Linked DNA regions of Homo sapiens: region 1 is linked to region 2. The links are contacts of gene promoters, found by promoter capture Hi-C in blood cells and fetal thymus (Javierre and others, 2016). All regions are on one chromosome and are shown on one strand. Each heading gives the region's core, a stretch centred on a gene start or on the middle of the fragment in contact. The rest is flanking DNA. Distances are from core to core; before and after follow the strand shown. Region 1 overlaps PKIG (cAMP-dependent protein kinase inhibitor gamma). Region 2 holds the start of LINC01620 (long intergenic non-protein coding RNA 1620).

Region 1 (4,311 bases), core at 761-3,260, 150 kb after region 2:
GGCCTTGCATTCTGTTTGGCACACAGCAGGTGCTTGGTAACCACAGACCGAATGACAAAAGGAAACAGCATCCACCCACCCAAGTCCTGGCTGGAACACCCCCACCCCCTCCATTCCCCCAGAGAACCCCTTGGCTCAAGTCCACAGTCAGCCTGGGAATTTCCTTGGGAAGCTTCCCTGACCCCTGCACGGCTGAGGCCTTTCCCTCCTGCTCTCACAGCGCCACAGAGGCCGTGTGTGCTTCTCACAGCACAGCCATCAGGCTGCAACTGTCTCCCCGTGGGCTGTCCGGAGGGCCACAGCCCTGCCCCTCCCTGGGTAGCCCTAGTCTTCTTGCCCCTCACTGGCCAGAAGTGAATCAAAAGTACAGAACAGAGAAGACTTTGCCGGGGCTTGGACCCAGCCCTCTCATGTTACAGATGGACAAACTGAGGCCCAGAGAAGTTGGAGGACTTGCTCTGGGCCACCCAGGGAGTTAACATAGAATCTGGCCGGCTTGAGAGAGAGCCCCCAGCACCCTGTCGACGGAACCCCACCCCAAAAGCCTTCCCTGTCCCATAATCTATTCATTCTCCTCTGTCACGTGGCCCAGGCAGAACCTCCACAGGCTCACCCTGCTCGCCTCTCCAGCATCAACTCTCATCCTCTCGCCAGCCATAGTCAAGTACTTTGATCGCTCAGAAGCCCCTGTGGGCCTTCACACGCTGCACCTCTGTTTGCTTCTCCCCTCCCTCCCCTTGCCTGGCTGGGTTCTCTTCATTCTTAGAGACCCAGGCATCTGCTCAGCTGAGAAGCCTTCCCTGACCGCAGTACCCCTCCCAGACCGGGGAGGCACCTCTTCTCCCTGCTGCCTCCATGAGCCCACTGAGCATAATGGCCCTGCTCTAGACTGAGCTTCTCCAGCACAGGCTCTGTGTCTTGTGCCCTCGGTGCCTGGTGGTGTTTGGCACATGATGGAGGTACCGAGTCAATGGCTGTTCATTGACCGACTGAATGACCAGCATGTCCAGCTGCCACACTGGGCACGCTGCCCTGGGCTCTCTCTCAAGGCTTCTGTGTCCTCACCCTCAGCTCTGGTGAGCTCTGTTCTGTCTCTCTCTCCCTCAGCAGTTGTAGCTGCTGGCCCATGTGCCCAGGCTCTCCTAACACCTGTTTTCCCTGACTCAGATTCCCTAAAGTATGGGTCCTCTGGCTACATGACATTCACCTGCCAGGGTGACTGACATTTAAAAAGGGGGCCTGAGGAAAGAACAGTGCTCACTGAAGGAAAGGAAACACTCACGGTGGCGTCCAGGCAAGAGTGACTGGCCAAGGAGCCTTCCAGGAAGCCCGCAGGGAGCAGTTCCGTTTCACAGGCGGGGCTGCGGGCCACGCCCACTCCAGCGACTCCCCAAGGCAGGGGGAGTACAGAGTTCCAGGCGCCACCCCGCTGGGAATAAAAGCAGGCTTTCCAGGCAGCGGGCTCGGAATAGGGTCCCGAGCTACCACCCACTTCCTAGCTTGCCGCAGGGGCACAGTGAGGCAGTGCTGATGTCAGGCCTCTATAAACCTTCAGGAATGCTGCTTATTGGAGGAGGTTAAATTTGGTAGAAGGGGTACTAGCCTTGGTGGCAGGCAGGGCTCTCCACCCTTGATCCAGGCAAATCAGCTCACCTCGCTGGGCCTCGGTTTTCTCATGCATATCATGACCCTAGTTACACCTCCATGTTACTGTGTGCATTGCACGAGAAAGTGCCCATCCATCTGCAGACCCTGGAGCTTGCTATAGGGTGGTGATTCTCCTGGTTCTGTGAAGGGCTTAGCCTGAAGGATAAAAAGGTGTGGTCTGGTTGGGCTGGATTTGAACTCAGGCCCTCAGTGAGCTTGTAGGGCACCTAGTAACATTGCACAGTGTCACTGGGGTTTAAGAATGTACCACCTATTGAGCTCTGCCCACATGCCAGGCCCCACGTGGTGCACCTTATGAAAAGACACCTGTTTATCATGCAGCCTGAGGAGGAAAGCATGGAGACTGGGGCCTGGGTGTGAGTTTGGCACTCCCCTCAACCTGCACTGCTGGTCCAGTGGGTGGCAGGAGCTGCCTGTCCCACCTTGCACAGGGGGGCTCAAGGGAAGCTGAAAGTGAGGAGACTTGGCTTGTATCCTGACTCCCCTCAGTGAGGTGCTCCATCTCTGTGAGCCTGCTGCTGCCCCTCACCCCACCAAGATGTCTGACAGGATGGATTTGAGAAGGAGGTACAACACACACCCCATGATGCACGGTTGGCCCCCACAGACTCTGATGCAGGCCACACCCTGGCGCTCCCTGAGCTGGCCTGGTTCAGTGCTCTTTACTCTCTTAGAAGAACATTGGCCGGGCACGGTGGCTCACACCTATAATCCCAGCACTTTGGGAGGCTGAGGCAGGCAGATCACCTGAGGTCAGGAGTTTGAGACCAGTCTGGCCAACATGGTGAAACCCCGTCTCTACTAAAAATACAAAAATTAAAAAAAAAACAAACAAACAGAACAGCTGCCATTTGCTGAGCACCTGTGACACACTGGGGACTTAACATCTGGCCTCTCCCTCTGGGGAACCTGCACAAACAAAGCAACCTTCAAGAGCCCTTCACTTGATGCTTTAAGCACCCATCCATAATGGCCCTTAATTGACTCTTAATTATACTAACAAACACTATGTGTATTTCCATGTAAAAAGATGTTACAGACCAGGCTAAAGTCCATAGGCCACCACCACCTCAGTCCAGCTCCAGCTCGTCTTGCTCCCCAGGGCATATCCACTGCTATCAGTTTGGCTGGGCCCTTTCACACCTCCTTCTGTGCATTACTTTGTGTATATGTGCCCAAGAAAAACCTCTTTCTCTCCTCTCCAGAAGGACAGGTGGAGGGAAGCGCCCCAGACAAGGAAGCTGGCAACCAGCCCCAGAGCAGCGATGGGACCACCTCGTCTTGAATCTGACCTTGTCCAAGAAGGCTGGACGAGAGACCTTCTGTCCCCTCCCAGAGGGGGAACCCTGGCACTGGCCCAGCAGCCTCTTCTCTGAGCTCCATGTCCCAGATAAACCAGGCCAGACTGAGAAGGCTCCCCAGAGGCCTCTGTGGCCTCCACTCCGGGAAAGCCCTCTGCCCACACCCACAGGCTTCACATTCCCACCACCTTCGCACCGTGCCCAGGTACACTTTCAAGACACTGTAACCACAAGATGTTATTTATTGAGCTGGCGCCGGGACTTGGGCGGGGCCTGCCCTACAGTGAGCAGCCCACACAGGAACGCTCCTCTCGCGAGCGGCCCGGGCAGGGACCCTGTCCCAACACCAACACCTCCTCTCCAGCCCAATCTTCTGGGTCCAGACCTGCTTGTCCCTTTTTTAGAAAACACTTTTAAACTTTTTAAAAATTTTAAACCTTTTTTCAGCAGATATGGAGAGAGCTGACAATCAATTCACATTTTTTAAGCCATTTTAGCTAAACTGTCATTGTGCATCTCTGAGGTTCCCTCATGGAGCTCCACAGATCCATTTTTAGGGAAGGGATTTTGGCTCAAAACGATCTGACCACCTCTGCCCTGTCCACCAGGATAAGTGACACCTAGGACCCAGGAAATAAATGCCGATGATTTGTGTGACTGGTTTAAGATTATTTCTCCTTAACCTTGCAAAAACAGGGGTTGGGCCTTATTTTCCCCAAGTCCACAATTAGCCGGACTTGCCCCAGGCTTCTAGAACATACGATTCTGAGAAGATGCTGGCGTTCTGCAGAGGCCAGCACCCTCCAAGGCCAGTGTCTGATGAGCCCTCTTCCATCTCATCTGCTCTCACCCCAACTGCCAGCTTCAGGAACCCAAAAGGAAGCTTTACTCCTTAAAACCTAGAGTTAGGAGGGGCTGAGAGTTCAGGGAATGTTTGAGCAACAACCAGAGAAGCCTTATTTCTTCTGGAAGGAGGACAGCCTCTGGACCCCTCTTGGCCCACAGCATTGGGATCTCTGGCCTGGCATTCACAGCCACCCTTAGGCTCAGGCCCTGCTGCTGAGCAGGCTGACCCAGCTCCCTCCATGCTCATCCTGCCCACATCGGCCCGCCCAAGACCACCAAATTACATGCCACCTGCTGCATGCCACCAGCCATGGGCTTCTTTATTGAGCACCAGATTTTCAGTACAAGTTGCCACAGAAGGAGGGTTTCAGATTCAACCATGCCCATGTGCAAGGGCGCTGGTCCCTGGCCAGGGCACATAATCAGAGAAGTGACGCGGCCATGCCGAGGTATACGTGTGTGCAGAAATGGACACATAGGGTTCAGGAGCATCAGT
Region 2 (4,101 bases), core at 1,480-3,979:
TAATGATGTTCAATAAACTAAACATACTTAAATTGAATAATCTGATGAGTTTCAACATATGTACATACCCAAGGAACCATCACCACAATCAAGATGCCAAGTGTTTCCATCGCTTCCAAAAGCTTCATGCTCGTTTATAAGCCATCCCCCATTCATCCCACCACCCCATTCCCAGGTAACCATCACCAATATAGGTTGCTTTCTTTCACTATAGATGGCTTTACATTTTCTGGGATTTTATAGAAATGAAATCATGCTATATGTACTCTGTCTTAATTTTTTTTTTTTTTTTTTTGAGACAGAGCCTCTCTCTGTTGCCCAGGCTGGAGTGCAGTGGTGAAATCTCGGGTCACTGAAACCTCTGCCCCCCAGGGGTTCAAGCAATTCTCCTGCCTCAGCCTTAGTAGCTGGGATCACAGGCGTGCGCTACCATACCTGGCTAATTTTTTTTTTTTTTGTATTTTTAGTAGTCTCGAACTCCTGGCTTCAGGTGATCCGCCCACCTCAGCCTCTCCAAGTGCTAGGATTACAGGCGTGAGCCGCTGCGCCCCGCAAATATGTACTCTTTCTGTCTGACTTCTCTCATTCAGGCATGAACCACCATGCCTGGCCATTTCGCCATTACTTTTAACGGCAAAAACCGCAATCACTTTTGCACCAACCTAATAGATCTCACAGGTGAAGCACGGTGGCTCACACCTGTAATCCCAACACTTTGGGAGGCTGAGACGAGCAGATCACTTGAGCCCAGGAGTTTGAGACCAGCCTGGGCCACATAGCGAAACCGTGTCTCTACTAAACACCAAAAAATTAGCCAGGCATGGTGGCATGTGCCTGTCTGTAGTCTCAGCTACTCAGGAGGTTGAGGTGGGAGAATCGCTTGAGCCCTAAGGTCGAGCTGCAGTGAGCCGTGATCGCACCACTGCACTCCACTTTGTCTCAAACAAACAACAAAGAAAGATACAGAAGCCATAGTTTCTTCACCCATGCCCCTGGGCATGTCATTGTTTCCCCCAGTTTTTGCCTATTACAAATAAAACTGCTATGAACACTCATGTTCATGTCTTTGAGAGGACAAACGCTTTCATTATGCAGGAATACAATTGCTGGTCACATAAGTGTGTGTTTAACTTTTTAAGAAACTGCAAACTACTTCCCAGTCTGGCCTTTTTAATTATAGTCATTTTAGATGCACTCATTTTTTTTAACCTGTGGATCTAATAGATGGTTTCTTAGACTGTCTGGACCTCAGTGTTTTCATGTGTAAAATGGAGATAATTGGCCGGGTGCAGTGGCTCACGCCTGTAATCCCAGCACTTTAGGAGGCTGAGGCAGGCAGATCATGAGGTCAAGAGATCGAGACCATCCTGGCCAACATGGTGAAACCCCATCTCTACTGAAAGTACAAAAATTAGCTGGGCATGGTGGTGTGCACCTGTAGTCCCAGCTACTCGGGAGGCTGAGGCAGGAGAATCACATGAACCCGGGAGGCGGAGGTTGCAGTGAGTCAAGATCGTGCCACTGTACTCCAGCCTGGCAACAGAGCGAGACTCCATCTCAAAAAAGAAAGGAGATAATTACATCAGTTTTGAAAGGTAGTGAAGACAGAGTGAACTAGCACATAAGCACATATGCAGCACATAGAACAGGGACTGGGACATAGTAGGGGTTCCATAAACGGTGGGTTTTTGTTGTTGTTGTTGTTTTTGAGATGGAGTCTCGTGCAGTGTTGCAATCTCAGCTCACTGCAACCTCCGCCTCCCAGGTTCAAGTGATTCTCCTGCCTCAGCCTCCCAAGTAGCTGGGATTACAGGCACGCACCACCATGCCTGGCTAATTTTTGTATTTTTAGTGGAGACAAGGTTTCACCATGTTAGCCAGGCTGGTCTCGAACTCCTGACGTCAGGTGATCCACCTGCTTCGGCCTCCCAAAGTGCTGGATTACAGGTGTGAGCCACCAGCCTGGCCAAGGGTGATTATTTTATTACAATTGAACCACAGCCATCCTATGATCTGGCCACTTACCCCAGGATACAGCATCCTCAACTAGATGGCAAAAAGCCACTTCCTTTGCACTTAGTCAGTGCTGTTAGCCTGGAGGAATAACAATGGCACCATCGATTGTGCCAGGCACTATCCTAGGTGCTTTTGTATGTTGAATCCTTGCAAAGCCCTGTGAGGTGGGTCAGTGTTTGCCTTCTGTATGACAGATGAGAAAACTGGGATGTAGTAACTAGTCATTGGCCAAGGTCACACAGCAGTGAAGTAATGGTGCTGTGATTTGAATCTATGTAGTTTGATTTAGGATCTAGAAGTTTCGCTAATGGATTACCTAGCTCAGAACTAGTGAAAGAGCCCAGTCACAAAAGCACCTCCTGATGCCCAAAATCATTTTCAGCTCCTCAGACACAGAGCCTGAAGCAAAGATTAGGTACTGTGTGATTTATAAAGGAAAGAACCTGTAAGGGATGAAGGGAAGCAAGACAGGGAGGGAAACAAGAAAAGATGTGGTCTCAGGTAAAGTCTAGCAAAAAGGCTGGCTTTGTGTACCTCTGTACGAGTCAGCTGTTGGCTGCCAGCCACCCTGTGGGTGAGGGGAATAAACTCCAGGGTGAGGTGATTCCTGAGATGGCAGTTCTCCGTAGAAATGGAAATAGTAAGCCATTCGAAGCCAACAACTGAAGCATCTGGGGGGATGGTGTTGGTGTGCTAGCCCATGAAGGGCTCAAGAGGTTCCCAGAGGCACACTTCTTGCCTGCCTAATGAATCAAGTTCTAGAACATTCTGGAACATTCACTTCCTAGACTTGTTTTGGAGAATCCTCCTTCTCACTGAGACCAGCATGTTGAACAAACCCAGCCTGTGACATAATCAAAGCATACCTTAATTTGTATCTCCCAGTGTCCTTTCTAAGATGTATTTGGTAGAGAAACATTTTCCCTGCCACTGGGTGAAATCTCCCCATTATTCTTCTGCTTGTTCTGAGGAAACAGGCAATTCTATGGTCACTTTAGGTCACAAACACAACCTCAATTTAGAAATGAGAATGTCCAGTCAAGCTTCTAACCAAAATTCCCAATTTGATTTGGGTTTAAACCTTCTCCCCTCACCCTCAGGCCTGCTTCAGGGAGGTGGTGTGGGTGACTCCTTCTCTATCTCTCCTTCCCTCACCCACCCGTGGGGTACAGTGGGGGGTGTTGGAGATGGCAAGGGGAGAGGAAGGGTCTCCCTTGAGCTGCCACCATCCTGGCTGGCTTCAAGCTGCCCCTTTCTGTCGTGGGCTCCATGGAGATGGCCACTGTCACAGGGGCCCTCTCACTCTTAACCTTGGGGGATGCATCTCTCCTCATAGGGGTCCCTTGCAAGTCCTTCGTCAGCCCTTAGGAACCCAACATCCAACTCAAGCTTCTTGCTGCTGCCACACCTCTGCCCCTCCAGGAGGCTCTAGGGGACAGGACCCAAGAGGACCCCTTGTAGGTGCTCTCTGCCAACACTGGCCCATGGGAAACACTCCAGCCAGCAGCCTGTACTCCGAAAGTCCTGGGAATGTGGCTTACCTTAGCACGCCCACACTGGCTCCTTCACCAGTTCAGCCAGGCAGCCCGTTTCTCTCAGCCTCTAGATGTCCATGCCCACATGAGACCACTGGGCCCCCTCATAATGGCCACACATTATTCTCTACATATAGTGGCCCCTCTCATGGAAGAGCCCCCATGACCCCATTCCACCCTTCCAGGGAGATGGTCACCAAAGAACTCTTTGCTTCCTCTTCCCATCCTAGGAGAATGTGGTGGGTATAGGGGTAATAGTAAATGTGGGGGTTTTGGGTAGCCATGGCCAAATTTTAGCAGCTGTGGGTTTGGACTGGGCTCTTTTTTGTTGTTGTTGTTGTTACGTAAATTAACCCATTTATTACAGGCCAGTGATGTCTCAAAGAGTAGAGGAGCGTCTACTGGTCTTTCAACTCCTTCAGGCTTCTGATGGCGGACTTTACCGTGATAGCGGAGGTGGTATTGTATGTCCAGGCACCGCCAGCCACTGTCTTCACGCGGGAACCACAGTGCCAGATCCCCGCAGCTCATCTCTTCATCTTGGTTTTGC

The links. The method cuts DNA at HindIII sites, captures the fragments that hold promoters and counts their contacts. A CHiCAGO score of 5 or more calls a contact.
Region 1: a fragment that was not itself captured here is called in contact with the fragment with the promoter of LINC01620 in region 2 in 7 of 17 cell types (megakaryocytes, erythroblasts, M0 macrophages and 4 more); the score reaches 13.1 in megakaryocytes.

Annotation. Positions count from the first base shown.
Region 1 is chr20:44,615,412-44,619,722 of GRCh38, forward strand. It overlaps PKIG (cAMP-dependent protein kinase inhibitor gamma), which reads left to right. Exons shown (of 4, transcript NM_001281445.2): 4 at 2,874-3,626. The coding sequence ends at 2,953. ADA (adenosine deaminase) reads right to left here. Exons shown (of 12, transcript NM_000022.4): 12 at 4,111-4,311. Among named protein-coding and RNA genes, the nearest start is that of ADA, 34 kb to the right of the region's middle. RefSeq lists enhancers at 339-468, 2,363-3,090. The HindIII fragment of the contact is 3,680 bases long and covers 171-3,850 here.
Region 2 is chr20:44,462,615-44,466,715 of GRCh38, forward strand. It overlaps LINC01620 (long intergenic non-protein coding RNA 1620), which reads right to left and starts at 2,730. Exons shown (of 3, transcript NR_132343.1): 1 at 2,551-2,730. It also overlaps the pseudogene RPL37AP1. The HindIII fragment of the contact is 2,937 bases long and covers 121-3,057 here.